Linked DNA regions of Homo sapiens: all the other regions are linked to region 1. Evidence: promoter capture Hi-C in 16 types of primary human blood cells and fetal thymus (Javierre and others, 2016). All regions are on one chromosome and are shown on one strand. Each heading gives the region's core, a stretch centred on a gene start or on the middle of the fragment in contact. The rest is flanking DNA. Distances are from core to core; before and after follow the strand shown. Region 1 holds the start of TACO1 (translational activator of cytochrome c oxidase I). Region 2 overlaps STRADA (STE20 related adaptor alpha). Region 3 overlaps ACE (angiotensin I converting enzyme).

Evidence for each region. The method cuts DNA at HindIII sites, captures the fragments that hold promoters and counts their contacts. A CHiCAGO score of 5 or more calls a contact.
Region 2: a contact is called between a fragment that was not itself captured here and the fragment with the promoter of TACO1 in region 1, in 1 of 17 cell types (non-activated CD4 T cells). The highest score is 5.0, in non-activated CD4 T cells.
Region 3: a fragment that was not itself captured here is called in contact with the fragment with the promoter of TACO1 in region 1 in 1 of 17 cell types (endothelial precursors); the score reaches 9.5 in endothelial precursors.

The regions. Positions count from the first base shown.
Region 1 is chr17:63,598,542-63,602,685 of GRCh38, forward strand. It overlaps TACO1 (translational activator of cytochrome c oxidase I), which reads left to right and starts at 2,354. Exons shown (of 5, transcript NM_016360.4): 1 at 2,354-2,822. The coding sequence starts at 2,543. The HindIII fragment of the contact is 11,259 bases long and covers 1,698-4,144 here.
Region 2 is chr17:63,711,416-63,716,186 of GRCh38, forward strand. STRADA (STE20 related adaptor alpha) reads right to left here. Exons shown (of 13, transcript NM_001003787.4): 5 at 2,591-2,693; 6 at 1,991-2,112. Among named protein-coding and RNA genes, the nearest start is that of LIMD2, 14 kb to the left of the region's middle. The HindIII fragment of the contact is 2,532 bases long and covers 2,021-4,552 here.
Region 3 is chr17:63,488,198-63,492,333 of GRCh38, forward strand. It overlaps ACE (angiotensin I converting enzyme), which reads left to right. Exons shown (of 25, transcript NM_000789.4): 16 at 451-594; 17 at 744-935; 18 at 2,757-2,854; 19 at 3,012-3,184. Among named protein-coding and RNA genes, the nearest start is that of ACE, 13 kb to the left of the region's middle. The HindIII fragment of the contact is 621 bases long and covers 1,996-2,616 here.

The DNA of each region.
Region 1 (4,144 bases), core at 1,104-3,603:
ATTTAGCCAGTGGCTCACACCTGTAATCTCATCTACTTGGGAGACTGAGATGGGAAGATCACTTGAGCCCAGGAGTTCTATGCTGCAGTCAGCTATGATTGCTCCACTGGACTCTAGCCTGGGTAACAAAGCAAAAAAAAAAAAAAAAAATTCATGATATGGAGAAATTAAACCCTCATATATTGCTGGTGGGAATGTAAAATGATACAACCACTTTAGAAGACAGTCTGGCAATCCCACAAAAGGTTAAACATAGTTATGATATGACCCAGCAATTCCACTCCTAGGTATATAACTAAAAGAAGTGAAAACATAGGTCCACACAGCAATGTGTACATGAATGTTCACAGCCTCATTATTCATCATAGAAGGTGGAAACAACCACATGTCCATTGCCTGATGAACAGATAAATAAAACGTGGTATATTCATACAATGGAATATTATTTGGCAATAGAAATGAAATACTGATACATGCTACAACATGCAAGAATCCTGAAAACATCATGCTAAGTGAAAGAAGCCAGTTACCAAAGGCCACATAGTGTGTGGGCCCATTCATATTAAATGTCCAGAAGAGGCAAACCCACAGAGACAGAAGTAAATTGGTGATTGCCTAGGGCTGTGGGAATTGGGGGGAAATAGGGAATGATTGCTAATGGGTACAGGACTTCTTTTGGGGATGATGAAAATGTAAAATCAATTGTGCACAGCTCTGAATATTCTATAACACATTGTACACTTTGAATTGGTGATCTGTGTGATCTGTGAAATATGTCAAAACTTAATTTTTTAAAAAATGAGAACTGTGTTGGGCATAGGAAGTACAGTCCTACTCTCAGAGAATTTAGTATTACGGTAGAAACAGATATAAACATTTTGATATTTTTTTAAAAGGTAAGTGCTAAGGTGCAAGCATGTATGAAGGGCTATGGGCACCCACCGCACCTGGCTAATTTTTGTATTTTTAGTAGAGACGGGGTTTCACCATGTTGACCAGGCTGGTCTTGAACTCCTGACCTCAAGTGATCTGCCAGCCTCGGCCTCCCAAAGTGCTAGGATTACAGGCGTGAGCCACCGCACCCAGCCCCATGGAGGTTCTTATATAATAAAAAATAAAAAATCTATGCTTTTGTGCTTTGCATCCATTATCCCATTTAGTCCTCACAAGGCCATTCTATGGTAAGGAAACTGAAACAGGAAAGTAAAGGAACTTGCCCAAGGATACACTAGAAAATGGAACAACCAGGGTTTGAAGCCACCCAGTCTAACTGCAGAGGGCACAAACTTGGACTTCACACTGTCCTGCTTCTCTCTCTCTCTCTCTCTCTTTTTTTTTTTTTTTTTTGAGTTGGATTCTCGCTCTGTCGCACAGGCTGGAGTGCAGTGGCGCGATCTCGGCTCACTGCAACCTCCTCTTCCCGGGTTCAAGCGATTCTCCTGCCTCATCCTTCTGAGTAGCTGGCATTACAGGCGCGCGCCACCACGGCCGGCTAATTTTTTTGTATTTTTAGTAGAGACGGGGTTTCACCATGTTGGTCAGACTGGTCTGGCACTCCTGACCTAGCGATCCGTCTGCCTCAGCCTCCCAAAGTGCTGGGATTACAGGCGTGAGCCACCGCGCCCGGCTGTCCTGCTTCTCTACCTGATATGTCATGCCCTTTGGACTTAATCTCACCAGCATGGGAGTCACTACAAAGCTTTTCAGCAGCTGCCGCTTTGTTTCTCTCCATCTTCTAACGGATTCGGTTTTCTCTTTCGAGACAGCAGAGAGAAAATGAAGAGGGGAGTTTAGCTCCAAAGGGCTTGTCTGATCATTCTCCCTCTCCCAAAGGCCTGTGACTCATCTGAGTCTGTCCCAAACCATCTCTTGCATCTAGGGGCTTAAGTGCACTGTGGCTATTTACATAAAACTTTATTACTTTAAAGCTCTAAGGGCTCATTTTGTGTTTCTAACTTTCCTATGTTGATAAAGCAAATATTAGATCCTTATTTATAAATAGGGAAGACGTTCAGAGAGATTAAACATTTGGGCAATTCACTTCTCTGGCAGCAGTTTCTTTCCCAGTACAATGAGGCAACAACAAAATATCATTCTGGACTTGCTCAGATTTAGGCAGCAATTTGGAAGCAAAGTCAGTTTCATAACTCAGATGTGTCTCCACTAAAACATTATGAGAAACAAAGTCCGGCGCTCTCTAGGCAACCGTGAGGGCTTGAGCACTAACTAGATCTGCTCAAGGGCAAGAGAGGAGCGAGTACCGTGCAGCCACGGAACGGACTTTGCGGGCAGTGGGGACGTGTTTTTGGAGCGAACCCGGTAAAGGAAGTGTGCTACGCCATCAAGGGCCCCCAGTCCCGGGTGCCGCGGGGACAGTGTAGGGTCATTAGCTGTTGAGCCGCCCCGGGCGGGCCCAAGCCTTTGGATCTCAGGTGACCGGCACAGGCGGCCGCGGGGTCCGGAACTGCTTGTTCCGGCAGTGGAAGAGACGCGCCGGCGTTGGCCGCTGCTGCTAGCAGCTTGAACCCCAGGGTCGGGACCGATGTCGGCTTGGGCTGCTGCCAGCCTAAGCAGGGCCGCTGCCCGATGCTTGCTGGCACGAGGCCCCGGGGTCAGGGCGGCTCCTCCGCGCGACCCCCGGCCCTCCCACCCCGAGCCCCGGGGCTGCGGTGCCGCTCCGGGCAGGACGCTGCACTTTACCGCGGCTGTCCCCGCCGGGCACAACAAGTGGTCCAAAGTCAGGCACATCAAGGGTCCGAAGGACGTCGAAAGGAGTCGCATCTTCTCCAAACTCTGTTTGAACATCCGCCTGGCAGTGAAAGGTGAGACCCTGACGGTCACCCAGCACTGGCTGCCGCTGCCCTCTCAGTGCCCGCAGCCTCGCTTGCCTCTCGGAATTGGGCCCACCTAGATCTCCGGCCCTTCACTTTGTTTTCCTTCCCCAGTACCCACCATTGCCCACCTCATAAATCCTCAAAACACCTACCCTACGTTGGAGGTTCTCACTCACTTTTCCAGACGCTGAGCATCTGGCCAGTTTGTCAGAGAGGGAGCTGCTCTTAAGAAGATAAGCCGGTAAGGTAGAAGTGACTTCATCCTAATCTAGCTGGGTACTTAATAGAAACAAGCCCTAAGAGTCAGGGCAGATGTGTGTCTCTCCTGAAGAGACAAATCAACCCCTCTGAAGTCGCCTCAAGTACCTTATTGGTTGTGGCAGGGGCACTGAGTAAAGCTATTACTTAAGTGCTTAGGCCTTAGCTTAGGCCTTAGTTTGCTTCATTAATGTTTCCCCAAGACACATTTCCTTGGAAGGTAGATTTGCAGCCATGTCTTTTCTCCCTTAGGTCGCCACACTGAAAAGGCTTTTTTTCTGTTTAGGGCCAGACATCTGTAGGAGCAAAGGAAAAGTCCTGTAGAAAGCATGGACTTTGGACTGGGCGCAGTGGCACAGCCTGTAATCCCAGGCCAGAGGCAGGCAGATCACTTGAGGTCAGGAGTTCAGGACTAGCCTGGCCAACATGGGGAAACCCTGTGTCTACTAAAAATAACAAAAAAAAAAAAAAAAAAAAACAGCTGGGCATGGTGGTGCATGCCTGTAATGCTGGCTACTCGGGAGGCTGAAGCAGGAGAATTGCTTGAACCCAGGAGTTGAAGGCTGCAGTAAGCGAGATTGCTCTACTGTACTCCATCCAGCCTGGGTGACAGAGCAAGACTCCATCTCAAAAAAAAAAAAAAAAAAAGAGAGAGAAACTGTGGACTTTGGAGTCAGGAAGACTGGTTTCTGTCACTGACTAACCTTGAACAAGTAGCTTAACTTGAGTTTCTCTGAAACAAGGATAATACCCACCTTGAGGTAGTTTATGGTTTATGGCACATCATAGGCATTCAGTTAATGTTAATTTACCCCCTCAGCTCATGCCTGGTATTTGTTTGCTTCCTTTTCTTCAAAATTCTTGATATTAAGTTCAAGCAACTTTTATTTATTTATTTATTTATTTATTTTGAGACAGAGTCTCACTCTGTCACCCAGGGTAGAGTGCAGTGGCGTGATCTTGGCCCATTGCAACCTCCACCTCCCAGGCTCAAGTGATTCTCCTGCTTTAGCCTCCGGAGTAGCTGGGACTACAAGTGTGCACCACCATGC
Region 2 (4,771 bases), core at 2,037-4,536, 110 kb after region 1:
TCCCGTCTCACTGCAGCCTGAACTTCCCAGGCTCAAGTCATCCTCCCACCTCAGCCTCGCTGGTAGCTGCGACCACAGGTGGACGTCAACATACCTAGCTAATTTTTTATATTTTTTTGTAGAGACAGGGTTTTGCCATGTTGCCTAGGCCTGCTTTGGCCTCCCAAAGTGCTGGGATTGCAGGCGTGAGCCACTGTGCCCAGCCCAAAACTATGTTTCTATTATAAAAGAAAACATGGCCGGGCATGGTGGCTCACGCCTGTAATCCCAGCACTTTGGGAGGCGAGGCAGGCAGATCACTTGAGCCCAAGAGTTGGAGACCAGCCTGGGCAACATGGCGAAACCCCATCTATATGAAACATACAAAAAATTAGTTGAGCATGGTGGTGCATGCCTTTAGTCCCAGCTACTCGGGAAGCTTAAGTGGTAGAATCACCTGTGCCTGAGCAGTTGAGGCTGTGGTGAGCTGTGATTGCACCACCGCACTCCAGCCTGAGCAACAGAGCCAGACCTTGTCTCAAATAAAGAAAAAAAAAAGAAAAAGAAAACACAGTTGATGGAGGAGAAGGCCAGCTGAGACTGGCTTCTGCTCCATCCTCAGACCCACCAAACTACTATGAACAGATGAACAGGTCCTAGAGCACCATCAGGTAACCACCAATTCAGAAAAAGTTGTAAATGAAGGAGGGGAGGGGCTGCAACTAACTCTACTGAAGGAAAACTGCCCCAGGCCCTGACTCTAAGCTGGCATCAGGAAAGGAGAGTCTAACTCCCAAGCACTTACTAGACTCACAGTCTCTCTCCGTTTTGTTTTGTTTTATTTTTTGAGCCAGGGACTCAGTCTGTCACCCAGGCTGGAGTTTGGTAGTGCAATCTCAAACTCCCGGGCTCAAGCAATCTCCCTGCCTTGCCCTCCCAAAGTGTTGGGATTACAGGCATGAGCTACCATGCCTGCCCCCTCTCTCAGTTTAACGAGAGAGTGGCTACTTGCTTCTCGAATAGAAAGGAATGTCAGGACTGGGCATAGTGGCTCACACCTGTAATCCTAGCATTTTGGGAGACTGAGGTGAGTTGATTGCTCGAGCTCAGGAGTTTGAGACCAGCCTGGGCAAGATGGTGAAACTCTGTCTCTACAAAAAATACAAAAATTAGTCAGGTGTGGTGTGCCTATAGTCCCAGCTACTTGGGGGGCTGAGGCAGGAGAATCATTTGAGCCCAGGAGGTTAAGGCTGCAGTAAGCCGTGGTCCTGCCACTGTACTCCAGCCAGGGCAATAAAATGAGACCCTGTCTCGAAAAAAAAGAGGCCAGATGCGGTGGCTCACATTTGTAATCACAGCACTTTGGGAGACCAAGGCAGGCAGATCACCTGAAGTCAGGAGTTTGAGACCAGCCTGGCCAACATGAAGAAACCCCGTCTTTTCTAAAAATACAAAAGTTAGCCGGGCATGGTGGTGTGCGCCTATAGTCCCAGCTACTCGGGAGGCTAAGGCAGGAGAATCGCTTGAACCTGGGAGGTGGGGGTTGCAGTGAGCCGAGATCGTGCCACTGCACTCCAGCCTGGGTGACAGAGTGAGAATCCGTCTCAAAAAAAAAAAAAAAGAAAAGAAAAAGAAAGGAACATCAGGCAAACAGGAGGCTGAGAGCCAGAAGATGGCCACTGGTGGCAGGGCAGGCACCTTGTGTCTGGAACAAGATGGCCTGGGTTTGAATCCTGCCTCTGCCATGAGCAAGTTACTTAGCTTCTTTCTAAATAATAAATAAATGAATAAAAAAGCCAGAAGGGAGTGTTTGGAGAAGAAAAGGGAAATATAAATTAGGCTGAGCAGCATTTCAGCCCAATCCTTAGTGCCAAATGGCCAGGATTCTCCACTGAAAGCTTCCATAACTTCCGAACGTTTAGTCTCCCTTCATTTCTTTGTAATTCCTTGTAATTCCTATCAGAGCCAAGAGCCCACCCTCCCTCCATGTGACACACTCATGGTTTATTACCTGCAAGAATGTTACCATCTCATTGGAACAAGCTTCTAGGTTAATCCTCCGTACAGTCACGTACTCTCCTGTTGGTTTGTACCTTGCTAGATTCACAGTCATCAGGTCCTCAAATCCTTTGCCTAAAAGAAAAAGGGAATGCCATACGCAAGGACAAGAACAACAAAAGGTTTTAAGAAAATTTTCCTTTAAAAAAGGGACTTGATTTCAAAAGAAACTTAATGTTAAATTTTTCACTACTGTTACTTTTTTTTTTTTCCTTTTCCCAGCAGAATTTAACTGTTATGTTCATGGCTCACATTTCTTGATTTTTCTCTCATCAGTTCCTTCTCAGCCAACCTTTCTGACTCACTATGGCCAGGACACCGGAAACATGGCAGCCACAAAGGAAAGATGGCAAAAGAGCTTCTTTCCTGGAAGTTTGATCTCTTCCCATACTTGGCATAAAAAAACAGAGAAGACCCACAGAAGCAAGTCTGTGCCCATGAATCCTCCTAACTAGTGGATGGCCTCTGCTGTACACACATCTGGGGCTGCTGAGAAAGCTGCAGCAGCCCCTGGAGCAGAAAGCAGGAGAGTAAGGACGGCCCCTGCACATACCTATCACAGTGAGCAGCTCGTAACACCCTCCCTCTGGCAGAAAGCTACTCATGACCTCCTGTTTAGAGAAGGATGCTATTGACTCTGAGCTCGCATCATTGGTCTAAAAAAGAAAAAGAAAAATAGGTTAGTAGAGAAAACTGGGGGTGGGATGGGAGTGGGGTGAAGGTGGTAATTCAGACCCACGAGGAGACTGGCATCTAAACACACACACAAATCCCGACTCAGTGCCAGCACTATTTGAAGAGAAACAAAACACTACATTCAGGGTAGTAATCAGCACTAATATCAGAGCAAGTGTTAGGGTTGTCTACAAATGAGGAGACAAGGACCTGTTCCCATCAAATGTTAATCTGCTTGTCCTTTCCAACAATCAATGCATTTGCTAAAAGCTATGAAATTCTCACTTGGAGAAGGGATGTCTAGAGAATGAAAGCATGTTTGGAAAAGAGAAGCAGGTGGAGAGGTAGGGGTTCTCATGAATTTCCTGATGCATTAGGATCCTATTTTTAAGGTCCTCACCACAAGATCCCAAAAGGTCAAACGCTGAATCTTGCTCTAGGGAAAATGTGGCCAGGAGTAGCCCCCTCTTTAGCAAACCAAGAGCCCGGGCCAGTCATTGCCTGACATTTCCAAGTGAAGTGGGAGAACCCTGATGCCCTGAGCTGCAGGCAAGGCACAGAGCTGTCAGGTCTCAGGCATCGTCCAGGCAGCTGACATGGCCTGCTCCCTCGTTCCTGCCCACGTGTGCTGTGAGTGAAGCTGGAGTCCAGCCACTTAGGATGTGTCACAACTCTGGCCTCTAAGGTCCTAGAGGAAGGTGTCCAGCCATGTCTGAGTTTGTGCAAAACACACGGCAGACCAACAGCTCTTCTTTCAGCTTAATGGACTGTTTCCTTCTTCCACACCTAAATTTATGTGTATGATTTAGGGACTGTGACTGCTTTTCTTTTAGATTCTCTTTCTTTAGATGCACATCTAACTGAAATGGAGAAACCTGGGCCAGCTCATGTTTCATGTGCTGCACTCATAAACCTGACCTCCAGGCAGAAAAAGTCCTTTGTGAAAGTATGAGAGGCTCCTGACCCAGCACTACCCAGAAGAGCACGAGCTGAGAGTGTTCTGAAAAGGCGGTGCTTGAACAACTCTTTGGGAAGCGGCTCTGCAGAGGAAACCATAAAGATGACGGTGCTCTATACCTGTAAGATGACCAGAGTATACTTTCCAGAGCACTTCCAAATTGCACATGATTCCTCCATAGCTCAGTCAAGTAGCCGGGACAGATCTTATCTCCACTTTTCACTAACAAAAACGAGGGCCAAGGAGATTATGTGACTTGCCAAAAATCAAAACGTGAGTACATGGCACAGGACCCAGGCCCAAACCAGTGAGATTAATCTACCACCCTGTTGGCTGACGTTTCACGTGTATCTGGTTTGTTTGTTGTTTTGTTGCTGTTGTTTTTAAGATATGGGTTATCTCTTTGTCGCTCAGGCTAAAGTGCAGTGGTGAGTTCCTGGCTCACCGTGGCCTCGAACTCCTGGGCTCAATTGATCCTCCTGCCTCAGCCTCCCAAGTAGCTGAGATTATTGGCAGGAGCTGAGATTATTGGCTGTATGTGGTTTCAAAACAGTTGATGCTGCTGATGGGGAAAGAAACCCTCAAGTGGGCTCTGTCTCCCTCACCACTTACCCTGGCAATAAGAGGAACCTAGTCAAGCAAAATTAAGCCCTGTCACCAAATTCCATTTCTAATTTAATCAATTTTTAAATTTCTAAGATTTGGCCATATTGTTGTATTTCACTGTAGTTCGCCCATTTTCACTGCTGTATCATATATTCAGCACATGAATATATCTCAGTTTATCCAATTCCAACTTTGATGGCTCATTTGGGTTGTTTTTCAGTTCTGCTATTATGGACTGTGCTACTATAAACATGTTTGAATATGTATCCTGACTAAAGCTTGTAATTAGGAGTGGCTGGAATTGCTAGTGACAGAGCATATGAACAATCAACTGTTTGAGACAATGCCAAATTATTTTCCAAAATGGTTATACCAATTTACACTCCCACCAGCAACGTACGTGGTTTTTTTTTTTTTTTTTTTTAGACGGAGTCTCACTCTGTCACCAGGCTGGAGTGCAGTGGCACGATCTTGGCTCAATGCAAGCTCCGCCTC
Region 3 (4,136 bases), core at 1,056-3,555, 110 kb before region 1:
AAATACAAAAAATTAGTTGGATGTGGTGGTGCATGCCTGTAGTCCTAGCTGCTAGGGAGGCTGAGATGGAAGGATTGCTTGAGCCTGGGAGGTCAAGGCTGCAGTGAGCCGAGATGGCGCCACTGCACTCCAGCCTGGGCAACAGAGTGAGACCCTGTCTCAGAAAAAAAAAAAAAAAAAAAAAGGAGAGGAGAGAGACTCAAGCACGCCCCTCACAGGACTGCTGAGGCCCTGCAGGTGTCTGCAGCATGTGGCCCCAGGCCGGGGACTCTGTAAGCCACTGCTGGAGAGCCACTCCCATCCTTTCTCCCATTTCTCTAGACCTGCTGCCTATACAGTCACTTTTATGTGGTTTCGCCAATTTTATTCCAGCTCTGAAATTCTCTGAGCTCCCCTTACAAGCAGAGGTGAGCTAAGGGCTGGAGCTCAAGGCATTCAAACCCCTACCAGATCTGACGAATGTGATGGCCACGTCCCGGAAATATGAAGACCTGTTATGGGCATGGGAGGGCTGGCGAGACAAGGCGGGGAGAGCCATCCTCCAGTTTTACCCGAAATACGTGGAACTCATCAACCAGGCTGCCCGGCTCAATGGTGAGTCCCTGCTGCCAACATCACTGGCACTTGGGTCCCTTCATTTTCCTCAAAGAGGTGCTGTGAAACCCCAAGCCTAGGAAAAGGTAGATCCCTGGAGGAGGCAGGTAATGTGGTGTTGGGAGAGCCTGGCTGTGTCCCCTCTGTAGGCTATGTAGATGCAGGGGACTCGTGGAGGTCTATGTACGAGACACCATCCCTGGAGCAAGACCTGGAGCGGCTCTTCCAGGAGCTGCAGCCACTCTACCTCAACCTGCATGCCTACGTGCGCCGGGCCCTGCACCGTCACTACGGGGCCCAGCACATCAACCTGGAGGGGCCCATTCCTGCTCACCTGCTGGGTAAGGGCACATGTCGGGCCTTGAGGAGGGTAAAGACGGACCACAGTGTGAGTGAGGGTTGGGACAGGGCTGACTAGAGGGTAGGGAGCAGGCTGGGGACTGAGAGACTCCAGCCCTGTGGGGGATGGTTGCCCAGGCTGGAGGGGGGTGGGCGCTGGGAGTGGGGAGCCCCCCACTTGCATCTGGTGCCACATTCACTGCAGATCTATGTCGGGCAAGTCACCATGGATGGGGGAAGAAGTTAATAATCTTGTCCAGGAGACCACGGCACCCATCACAACATTGTGTGATCTTAGAGGGCGAGGAAGAGGCTGTGAGTGGGAGCTGGGGAGGCTTTGCCAAGAGGTGGCCTGTGAGCAGGGCCTCGGAAGATGACAGGGTTTGACAGATGGGAAGTGGGGGATGAGAGGACAGACGCAGTGTTCAGGCCAAGGGAACTGGAACAAAGAAGAACCTGAGAATGTAAATCTACTTCAACCCTGGACCCTCCTTTGCCAAGGGCTGCAATCTCAGATGCCCTGAATGTGTGAAGTAGGCGGTGAGGACAGTAAGGGATGGTAGGGAGTAAGGCAAAGCAGAGGCTACTGGTTCTCTGTCCCTGATGGGCTGTTAGGAACACTTTCCTGGAGCAGAGAGACCAGACAGGCCCTCAGACCATTTAGAAACTATAAGGGAGGCCCCAGAGGACGGCCTGGCTGTGGGTCTAGCTCCCACACAGGCTGGGAGTCCAGCCCTCTTCAGCCCCTCTCTGGTGAGACCAAAGAACATCTGGTGATGTCACAGTGGACGTCAGTTCACCAACTGGGAGACACAGGCCCCGGGAAGAAAAGCAACATGCCCAGCGTGGCCTGGGAGCTGGGGCAGAGCTGGCCTTAGAACTCAGCCCCTGACAATTGGTAAAAGGGGAAAGGGGAGCAACCTAACACTGATGCGCTCTCTGTCTCTCTCTCTGGCTCTCTCCCTGGCTCTCTCCCTCTTCTCTCTCATGTTCTCTCCATCACTCATCGCTCTAACCCTCTCTCACTGGTTTGCACTTTAGACTTCATCTGATGTCAGCCGAAGCTTCACCTCACTTGGCTAGGAAAGAGCCTTGAGTCCAAATCTGTTTCTGAGCCTTCCATTCATCCTGAGTTTCTTCCTTTTCCTCTGTCGTGGAGAACTAGGCTCTTTTCTTACACTAAACTCAGAGGCATCAGCCTCTCCTGAAGGAGACGGCTGGTTCCTGTCAGAGTTGCTGAGCTGCAGACACCGACCTCAGGTGGTGCGGAGGGGACATGGCAGAGTGGCTGGTGAAGAGAGCAGCCTGCCAGCCTTTCAATCCCAGCCCTGCCACTTAGGAGCCGTGGGCCCCCGGCGAGGGGGGCGGTCACTTAACTCTCCAGCCTGTTTCCTTTACTAGCCAATGGGAATCGTGACAGTACCTGGGTGCAGACAGGATTGAAAGTGAATTCACACAATGTTCTTGGTGCAGAGCCAATAAGAGGTGGCCACCGGGGTGTAGGTGTTCTGGGGACCTGTAATGTCCTCACATGTCAGCAGTTGCTAGTCACATTGGTCTCCACTGCTCACGGACAGTGAAGACCACCTGGATTCCCTGATAACCAGCAAGGCCCCCACCTAGAGCCAGGCAGTAATGACCTACTGGGCTGGATATGCACACCAAAGATGATGTGTGCCTCAAAGCTTGCAAACAGTAGGTGCTCAAGAAATGCCACTATGATTAGCAGGACTGGGATCTGGAGCGCTCTTCCTGCAGGAGGGCATTGAGCCTAAGTAACATTTGTCTTTCCTCTCTCTGCCGTCCCCCACACTCGCCTCCAGGGAACATGTGGGCGCAGACCTGGTCCAACATCTATGACTTGGTGGTGCCCTTCCCTTCAGCCCCCTCGATGGACACCACAGAGGCTATGCTAAAGCAGGTCCGCACCAGCCCAGGGGCAGGGAGGCCCCGCCGGGATGGGAGGGACCCTCTGATTCAGGAGTTCCCTCCAGTTTAGCCCTCCCCCGGGATCCCCACGGCAGCACGCAGTCTGTCCCCGGAACCCCCAGTTTGGGCAGAACTCCCTCTGCTTGCAGGGCTGGACGCCCAGGAGGATGTTTAAGGAGGCTGATGATTTCTTCACCTCCCTGGGGCTGCTGCCCGTGCCTCCTGAGTTCTGGAACAAGTCGATGCTGGAGAAGCCAACCGACGGGCGGGAGGTGGTCTGCCACGCCTCGGCCTGGGACTTCTACAACGGCAAGGACTTCCGGTACATCCAGCTAGGGCTCAGGTCTCGTTCCTGAGCCCCACGGGCAAGGGAAATGAACCAAGCAAAGGGTCCACTACTGTCCCCCAGCTGGAGCCAGCAGGGCAGGATGGGGACAGGGCCAGAGTTTGGGACTGAGTGTCTAGAGAGGTGTTGGCTTCTGGCAGGAAAACCCCATCCGCCTGATGGGGACTTCTGAAGCACGCAACAGCTCTGTCAGCCTGGCCGCTGGGAAGTGCTCAAGGTCCCAGTCCTGGGTTTGAGCATGGTAGGCTGCCCCGCGTCCCTCCTTGGGAGCAGCCCCTGCATGGAGCTGGCCTCTCCCTGGGGGCACATGCTGTGACACAGGGAGGCACACGAGGATGTTGGGTGCTCTGTACAGATCCACTCTCACCCCTGACAGGCTCAGAAGCTGCCTTCCTTGGAGGATGGCGTTTTAGTTACCTATTGCTGTGCAACCAAGCACCCCAGAGCTTAGCCTTACGAAACAACCAGTTGATTTTGCTTATGATTTTATGTGCCAGGAATTCAGGCAGTACACAGTGGAAATGGCCTTTCTCTACAGGGCCCCCTCTGTTGGGGGCAGCTCTCACAGCCGGGATGGCTCAATGGGGGCCATACGTCCAGAGCCCCAGTTCTGGCTGTCGGTTGAGGTCCTCGGTTTTTCCCATGTGGCAGATGCTGGGGCACATGTTCCCAGTGGCCTCTTGGCTCACATGTTGGGTGCTTGGGGTGAGATGGCTGGAACGGCTGGAGGTGGGTCAGGCATCTCTCCAGGCTAGCTCGGGCGCCCTCCCAGCGTGGAATCTGAGGTGGGCAGATTTACCTGGCAGCCAGCATCCCCCACAGCAACTACTGACGCAGCCAGTTCTCAAGGCTAGGTCCAAAACTGGCCCAGAGTCACTTCTGCCATGTTTTATTGGCTAGAACAAGTCACAAGTTCACCCAGATTCAA